3 separate regions of the Homo sapiens genome follow, and regions 1 and 3 are each linked to region 2. The links are contacts of gene promoters, found by promoter capture Hi-C in blood cells and fetal thymus (Javierre and others, 2016). All regions are on one chromosome and are shown on one strand. The core of a region is centred on a gene start or on the middle of the fragment in contact, and the rest is flanking DNA. Distances in the headings are between cores, read along the strand shown.

Evidence for each region. The method cuts DNA at HindIII sites, captures the fragments that hold promoters and counts their contacts. A CHiCAGO score of 5 or more calls a contact.
Region 1: the fragment with the promoter of STK24 here is called in contact with the fragment with the promoter of TPP2 in region 2 in 7 of 17 cell types (activated CD4 T cells, naive CD8 T cells, total CD8 T cells and 4 more); the score reaches 14.3 in activated CD4 T cells.
Region 3: the fragment with the promoter of DOCK9-DT here is called in contact with the fragment with the promoter of TPP2 in region 2 in 4 of 17 cell types (naive CD8 T cells, fetal thymus, total B cells and 1 more); the score reaches 12.5 in naive CD8 T cells.

What each region holds. Positions count from the first base shown.
Region 1 is chr13:98,575,788-98,578,487 of GRCh38, forward strand. STK24 (serine/threonine kinase 24) reads right to left here and starts at 1,320. Exons shown (of 11, transcript NM_001032296.4): 1 at 958-1,320. The coding sequence starts at 999. STK24-AS1 (STK24 antisense RNA 1) reads left to right here and starts at 1,468. Exons shown (of 1, transcript NR_046542.1): 1 at 1,468-2,700. RefSeq lists silencers at 354-1,223, 1,274-1,583, 1,604-1,753 and an enhancer at 1,844-2,033. The HindIII fragment of the contact is 9,197 bases long and covers 1-2,700 here.
Region 2 is chr13:102,595,610-102,598,309 of GRCh38, forward strand. It overlaps TPP2 (tripeptidyl peptidase 2), which reads left to right and starts at 1,377. Exons shown (of 30, transcript NM_001330588.2): 1 at 1,377-1,594. The coding sequence starts at 1,430. It overlaps LOC107984588 (a long non-coding RNA gene), which reads right to left and starts at 1,333. Exons shown (of 2, transcript XR_001749984.3): 1 at 839-1,333. RefSeq lists enhancers at 811-970, 1,021-1,080 and silencers at 1,151-1,440, 1,601-1,890. The HindIII fragment of the contact is 7,622 bases long and covers 1-2,700 here.
Region 3 is chr13:99,085,312-99,088,011 of GRCh38, forward strand. DOCK9-DT (DOCK9 divergent transcript) reads left to right here and starts at 1,412. Exons shown (of 1, transcript NR_047482.1): 1 at 1,412-2,700. It also overlaps a transcript of DOCK9 not described here. RefSeq lists silencers at 744-1,223, 1,264-1,573, 1,664-1,723, 2,304-2,533 and enhancers at 1,414-1,975, 2,538-2,700. The HindIII fragment of the contact is 5,433 bases long and covers 1-2,700 here.

The DNA of each region.
Region 1 (2,700 bases), core at 70-2,569, 4.0 Mb before region 2:
CATCCTAAGCATTTTGCCACCATTTCTGCGCCTACAAAGTTTACAAGAGTTAGCCAAGGACGGTAGCTTTGTTTTTCAAAGGGCTAAAAGCAACGACAACGAAAACAACAACAACAAAAAACCTTTAACTTATACATGTAAATTTGAAATTCAACTCCTCTCCCACTCCCCAAAAAGTCACTGGTAGGCCAAGGTGTCACCAAGTACCGAAAGAGAGGTTTACTGGGCGAAGAATTCCTGTAAATGCAACCAAGTCTCAAAGTGAAAGTCCAGGGTCCCGGGGCCGGGCCCGGGACCCTGGTGCGCGGCTGTCCGAGGGATTCCTCCTTCCAGAAGGTTTGCAACTCGCACTTTCCCCCGGTCCGCAGGTGCACGGGGGCTCCGGGCAAAGCCACTGCAAGTGGAACTCGCGGTTACCTTCCTCCACTCCACCCTGCCTACTCCGCTCGGGCCCGGACGAGTCCAGGCGCGCTCCCCGTCCCCGCCCTGCCCAGGTCTCCCGCCCGCCTGCCCGGGGGTGGGGGACGAGCCTGGGGGACGCGTCCTGGGGCCCTCCGCCAACCCGGCCACCACGCAGGGCCCCGGGACCCGGCGGGGGCCTCCAAGGGCATCACTCCACCTCACTTCTCCCGGGGACAGGGCCACCCAGGGCCTGCAGCTCCGGAAGAGTGTTGGGGCGAGGGGAGCGCGGAGGACTAGGCGCCCGCACCCCCACATCCGGACCCAGGCCGCGGTTCCTACGGCTCCTGCACGCACACGCCGGAGACCTCGGCCGCCGGAGCCGGCAGGGACGCCCAGGGACTCGGACTCGGACCCCCGGCCGAGCCGGGCGCGCGGGGAGCCAGGCTCCGGCGCGACCCCGGCCGGCTGAGCGTAGGGGGACGCCGTGTGGATACCGCCAAGTTGCTGCTTCCGCCCCGGTCGCGCATCCCGGCCCCGCGGCCCGCGCCCGCCTACCTGCATGCCGGGCAGGCCCGACTGCACCGGGGAGTGAGCCATGGCGCTCAGGACGGCCACTTCCTGGGACGGGACGGCCGGGCCGCGACGATCCGCGCGGGGCGGCGAGGCCCGCGGGCCGCGCGCAGCCCTCGGGCGGCGGGGCCGGCCGGAGCCCGAGGCCACCCCAGCCCTGGCGGGTCCCGGCCGGGCGGCGGGGGCTCAGCGGCGGGTGGCGGGCCGCGTCTCCATGCACGGCGCCAGGGAGGAGCTGCTGGGGGCGCAGGGCCTCGCGCGCACTGCCGCCGCCGCCGCTGCTGCCGCTACTGCTGGGCTGGAGCCGGGCGGCCTGGGCCCGCGCGCGCTGGCCGCTGGAGCCGGAGTGGGCGCGCACAGCCCGCCGAGCCCGCGAGCGCCGAGCGCGTCCCGCCCCGGCCCGGCCCCCGCGCCCGCCCCCACGGCCCGGCCGGGGACCCCGCCCCGCGCTTCCGGGAGGGGGAGGGGAGAGGCCGGTGGCCGCGCGGGAGCCCTAGGCCGCAGCCGCCGCCTGTCGGCCCGGCCCGGGTCCCAGCTGCTCCTGCGGCGCTCCCACGCCCCCGCGGGCGGGCGGCGGGGCCGGGAGGGGGCCTCGGCTGGGGCGGGCGCCGGGAGGGACCGAGTCGGGGCCGGAGGCTGGCCGCGTGCCCACCGGGCCGGCGCCGGGGCGAGCCTGGGCCGCGGCCCCCTCTTCCCGCCAGCCAGCCCACCCCGCCCCGGCGGCCTCTGGGAAAACGCGTCCCGGGCGAGCCCCTGAGGGCAGGATCGGAGTCGGGGGCACCTGGGGAAGGAGAGCGCCCCGTGGGGCCTCGGCCGGTGGCCTGTGCCAAAAGGCCGGGCAGAGCTGCTTCGGTGTCTGGGTGAAGTTTCCAGCCAACCCAAGAAGGAAACCGAAAGGGAAGAGGCCGAGAGAGAGGTTAATTCCTAGTGCTTTGGTTACCGAAAACAGCCCGGCTGGGACTGCTGGGCTGGGAACTTAGCTAAGCAGTGCGGAGGCTGAACCCCACCATCTCTGGGATCCGCAGCAAATCAGAAGCCCCCACCCACGATAAGGGGAAAATGGGGCGCAGAGGGCAGGGAGGAAGGGAAGAGAATGGAAGGAAAGCGCGTCTGGACTTTGAACTGCAGCCCTCTCCCTCTTTCCCTTGCCTCGGAAGCTCCAGGCCCACTCAGCACCAGTTCTGTCTCCTCTTTTCAGCCGCCTTCTCTCTAGCTACTGAGGGGAAAAGTCAGGATGAAGCGGGTCCCTCGGCCTCCAGAAGGTGTTTTATTACAGTCGCAAACAGGTAGAGCGGCAGCCACCCCAGTGATGACTCCCTGCTCCTTAGATTGTAGGGACGCTGGCACCTCACTCATGCTCCTAAGTGGCCATTTTGCGCCCTGGCTGGGCGAGTTAGGCAGACAAAATGAGCCCCCAAAAGTTTAAAGGCCTCCACCAAAGGAGTATTTCTTTTCTGAGGTGTCATTGTATTCCATCCACGAACTTCAGTTCCCCCGGGTGCTCTGGATCTGACATGGAGTAGGATGCTAACATCTAATCCCTTCTTTCCCTTTGGAAAGATGCATGTTTTTTCTCGGAGTCCTAGGGAATACCTTAGAATACTTTCATGGTTGTCATTGGTACACCCATCCCTTGAGGAGCCCTGCCACCCGTAAGTAGGACTGCAAGGAAATACAAAATTAAGAGAAGTATGAACCCTGATACCCAGGAACTTAAAATCAGGTGTA
Region 2 (2,700 bases), core at 127-2,626:
GAATCCAAGGGGTTCAAAAACTTCCGTAGAAAAAAGATACAAACCTCTTAATTTTTTTCACATCAAGTATGAATGTAGGCAAAAACCAGGGTAGTTATGCTGTTATGTCACCAATAAAAATCAGTTCATCGTAGTGCAGTTTTCACCGCTATCTCCAAATAATTATATTCTTCACTATTTTGAAGTTATGGTAGTTTATTAGCCTTGGCCCTAGCTCCTGTTATTTAATGCAAAAGAAGTACACCTGTAACTATACACACACACGTAAAGCTCCTGCTATATAACAAAATTGCCTTTAGTATTTTTGATAACTGCATTTAAACATAATTTATTTCCTGGGTAATCCTATCTATTTCATTGTATGCATTTTAAAACACTGCTTGAGAAATAGGCCTCACCAGATTGCCAAAGGGGTCTTCGGCACAATAAAAGGCTAAGATTACCCTGGCATGAGCATAGACATAAAGATCATTAGAGGACCACTATGCAGCTTGCAGCAACTGACGGCAGGCACTGTGAATCTGGAAAACTGAAAATTATGGCTCTATAATTGAGTGGACAGCCGTAAGGAGCAATCAGAAACTTCAGTGTAAGAGGAAAAAAAAAGATGTTTTTCAGAAATCCCGGAAGCTAAGGATCAGCAGAGGATAGGAGGGGCCCATTTCAGTCTCGTGCTTTGTTACTGGCTACAAAGGCGACGGAATGACCAACAACCCACTTCCTGTTGACTGAAACTATTGCCTGTCTCCACCCTATTGCTCCCCCTCACCACCTCACCCCCATCAAAGGGGCATAACAACACAGGGGAACCCAAAGTCTACACCCCTTAACCTACGACCTTCCAAAATCATGTCCGGAGCTTTCGCCGACACCGCAGACTCCTTAGCGGCTAAGCGTGAGTGCGCCGGCTCCCTTGCCTCGGGTCAGCAGCACCCCGGGGCTGGGGCTCCTGCAGCAGCCGCACCAAAAAGTTTCATCCACAACCTTAAGTTTGGAAACTATCGTTTGCCAAGCGAAGGGTTCCCATTATTCCTGGCTGGCGGTCCATCTCCTTGCCCGTCTCTCGGGGAGTGATTCGGTCCGGGACACCAGGACTCTGCTTGGAGGCCTGCTGTTGCCTAAAAACCCCAAGCGCGGGCCTCTTCAAGGCCCCAGGTTCGAGATCCGAACCCTCCAGTAATGTCCTCAGACTCCTCCCCCTTCACTGCAGCCCGGGCAATACTCGGGCCTAGCTCCTGAGAGCGGCGCCGTTGGCTTACGTAGCAGCACGTGATTGGCCACCGCTCCCTGGCAGGCCGGGATTGGTGGAAGACGGGCCGACCCCGCCCCTCGCCCCCGCCTCCGGCCCGAGGCCGCACGGGTGTCCTCGCGCTGCTAGTCCGCGCGCAGCCTGGCAGTTTGCCGCTTCCTCGTCCTCCATCCTGCGTCCATGGCCACCGCTGCGACTGAGGAGCCCTTCCCTTTTCACGGTCTCCTGCCGAAGAAGGAGACCGGAGCCGCCTCCTTCCTCTGCCGCTACCCGGAGTATGATGGGCGGGGGGTGCTCATCGCAGTCCTGGACACGGGGGTCGACCCGGGGGCTCCGGGCATGCAGGTGAGGCGGCCCCCGAGGGCCCGGGCGCGGGGGCGCGGGCGGCCGGGGACGCGGGTGGGGACACAGTCTCGGAGCCCGGCAGGCCAAAGCCCCGCTCTGCGGCCGAGTCCGGGCCGGGGTGGGCAGCACCGGGGTGGGCAGAGGTCAGAGCCAGGCGCGGGAGGGACGGGCGCCCGCCAAGGGGACTCAACGGCGCACAGTGCCAGGGTCGCTGGGCGGGCGAGGGCCCGGACCCCAGGTTGGGCCGTGGTCCCCCCAGCTCAACAAAAGCAGCGTGCCCGGCGCGGCTGCCTGGGGAAGCCTGGGTCCCCCTTTGGCCCCAGGGACTCCCCTTCCTTCTCGCTTCGGCGCTGCCAGGCCGGACCCCCCAGGCTCCTTCCCTCCACGCCGCCTTCCTCTGCCTACCCCTCGTGCCTCGGACACCGGTCCCAGCCTGACGTTTTTAAAGAGAATTTTACAGCTTTTATCATTGGGGTGGGGTGGAGACACCAGATAGGCAACTGACATGTGAGAACTTAATGTTTAGGGATCGGGAGATTTGGTTTGGGGAAGAATAGTTTGTCTTTAAGCACGAAAGCTGGGTTTCCAGAAGATAACCCAGTCCTCTTCCGGAATTGTTTCCTGTGGTAGTTTTGTGTATTCTATTTTTAAACGGTCTTCTGCAGCGTGTTTGCTTAGGGTCATTGAATCTTGTGGCTTAGTCTTCGTTTACATAAGGAGAATTCAGTTAGGTTTGGTTTTGGCGAGCTTCTCAGACCTTATGAAAATATGCGACTTTTTTTTTTTTAAACCTGAAAACATACGACGGTTTTTAAAAATTACTTAGTTTTTTGCCTTAGGCAACTTTAAAATCTGTAGATTCAAGGTATCATACCAGAAGGTAGTTTTTTTGAAAGTATGTTGTCTCTCGTTAAAAGCATTCTGTTTAAAGTCTTTAAAGTTTAACTTTTGTACTTTTAACCCTTTACTGAAATCCAGTAATAAAATTTCACCGTTATTCAAGATCCATCTCCCAGCATCCCTGACTAATCCTACTGTATGCTGATCTCTCGTTGATCAGCCCCTGGCTATCTTATCCTCCTTTCTACACTAAACACTCATCCTCC
Region 3 (2,700 bases), core at 162-2,661, 3.5 Mb before region 2:
AAACAAATGCCGGCGGCAACGCAAGGAGCTGCTAAAAGTTTCCAGCTGCCCTGCAGAGCTCGCTCCTGCTCAAACGTCGCTCCACTCCCGCACCATCCAGGTGAATCGGGTTGTAGTGCGTTTCCAAATACAGCAGGACCGGCGCTGGCTGTGAAAAAGTTAATCGAAAACTTCATCTTCCTCACACCCAGAGGCCTATTCTCTAAAGACGTTCTGCCACGGGAAGATTCGTTTTGGGCTGATGGCTTTGCTTACTTAGAACCCCCAAACGTCACAGGAATTTGCACCAATACTAAATTAGCGAGGGTTCCCATCATGCCCCCCAAGCCTTCCTAAAAGGCGGCCAAACTTCAGGATACCGGCTTGGAGGTGGGGGGCGCAGGAGAGGATGCCGAAGTCCTTCCCTCCTGGAGTTCAGCCAACTCAAAGGGTTAGCAGGGGCATCTCCCACCCTGAGCGCAGACTGGATGAGGAAGCCCCCACCTCAATTCCCCTGCGCCCCTCCAAAACATGGAAGGAGAGGGAGGCCGGGGGAGGGATACGGGGGAGGGATGCGGGGGAGGGGGGAGAGTGTAATTTCCCAGTTGACAGAAAGCAGGTAAATTGGGAGAGAGCGGGGTGAAAAGAGTGACAGGGCGACATCACTCTGCGGAAATTTCCCAGGAGGAAGGGGACAGCGATGGGGACAGGATCTTGGGTGGCGGGGAGGGGTCTGGGAGTTGCAGCCCCTCCAGGACCTTCTCTTCTCCCCTGTCCAACTCCCTCCCGCCGGCCCCACCTCTTGATTCCGCGGACCCAGCAGGGTCGGCCGCTCTGCCTCAGCCCTGCCGACTAAGAGGCGCCCGGCCCGGGGCCCGCAGCTGCCTGCGCCCCCGCCATCCTCCCCCGGCCCGCGGTCGTCCCGCACTCACCAGGAGCACGGAGCCGCGCACCACCTCAGACACGCTCTGCCGCAGCTCGGCCGCCGTGCCCGGCTTACTCAGCGCCCGGGTGAACTTCCGAGTCTCCGCCGAGGCGGGGAGCAGCGGCGGCTGCGACATCCTCCTGCCCCCGCCGCCTCCGCCTCCGCCTGCTCCCGCGGCCCGGCCCGGCCGCGCGGCCGCCAGGTGCGCCCTCGGCGCCCGGCCCGCTCCGCCCGCCGCTCCCGGCGCCGCCGCCGCCTGCTCCCCCCGCTGCTCGCCGCGAGTCCGGCCGCCGCAGCCCAGGCCGCGCCCTCTGCACCGTGTCACGCCCCAAGGCGCCCCCCTCGGCGTCCGCGGCCCCCCGCGATCGCAGCAGCGCCCGGGCTCGCTCCGGGCGACCGTGCGTGTGGCGGCGGCGGCTCCCCCATGCCACCAGCCTCCCTCGGCGACCACTCGCCGGGCCGCCTCCTCGGGGCGGGGTGTCCGGCGCGGCGCGGGCGGGGCGGGGCGCCCGGACGGCGGAGGAGGGGCCGCCGCGGCGGGACGGCGGGCCAGGCAGGTCGGCGCGGCCCGGCGCTGGAGCTAGGCGGCCGGACTGGCAGGGGCGGCGTGCCGCGCGGGACCCTCACTGGGGAAGGTGGGGGGTCGGGGCCGCCTCCGCCCCGGGCCGCACGTCCGAAGACCGGAGGAGGGGACTGCGCACGCCACCAAGAGGGCGCACAGCCGAGGCTGGACGATGCGCGGTTTCGGAGCAGGGTTTCCTGCCCAGGGAGCCCGGCTGCGCTCGAGGGGACCCCGAAGTCACCGGCAGGGTCGGAGCTCGGTGCACCACGCCCCCCCTCTGCGCCCGGGGCCTCTGCGGGGACAGAGGTCTCAGGAAAGTAGCCTTTATTTATGTGGCACCGATCGGAACCCGCGGCCGGCCAGGCGGACCTGGACGGAGCGTCCCTGCTCGGAACCTGGCGCGGGGCGCCGCGCGCTCGTGTGGCGCCTCGGCCTCCCCACCGTTCAGTCCCCGGAGGCACGGAGCTCGCGGCGGGACGATGACGGTTGGGCCGGGCCAGGCGTGGGAGACTCCCAGACTCCGGCCCGCCGGGACGGCCAGCTGCGTCACCTTGGACGTGGGCAATACTTCGGAGCCTCGGTTATGTCGCCTGTAACCTGAGGACAACGGCCTGGAAGGGGCTCAGGTGACACGGCGGCCCTCACTGGGGCCGATTTAGCCGGTCTGCCGCCCCTCCGCGCCGGACCGCCAGGCGGGGTACCAGGGAAACTGCGATGCGCCGGCTTGCGAGCCCACCGTGACGCAGAGCTGGCGGCCGCTAGCGACAGCCACCCTGTGAGGGACTTTCCCCCCAATACCCTAACCGCTTTCCTGTCCCTAAGGGCCCGCTCCCGCCCCGGCTCCGTTTCTGTCTCTCTGAGGAAGCCCGGCGCAGCCTAACCCTCACAGGGCCGCGGAGAGGGCGCGCCAGGCGGGGATTTGCGCCAGGCCCGCGGCGCATGCTCAGTGGTTGGGGACTGGGCGGGTACCCCGGGCGGGGAGCCTGACTGAACGGCGGCTCTGCTGATTGGTCGGGCTGCTCACGCCACGCCCGTTGCCTTCCGATGGACAGTTCCTTACCTGCCGGGTCGGCCTCCGCAGAGAGTGGTGGTCTTGAAAACCCAGTTTTGGGAGAATACCTGCCGCGCCTCCCGCCCAAATACCCAGAGGTTTCATAGCCGCCATCGCTGCGGTGGAGGAGGCCGCCTGTTGCGTCCCACCCCACCAGAAAGCCTAACACTGGCCTGAAGCGTA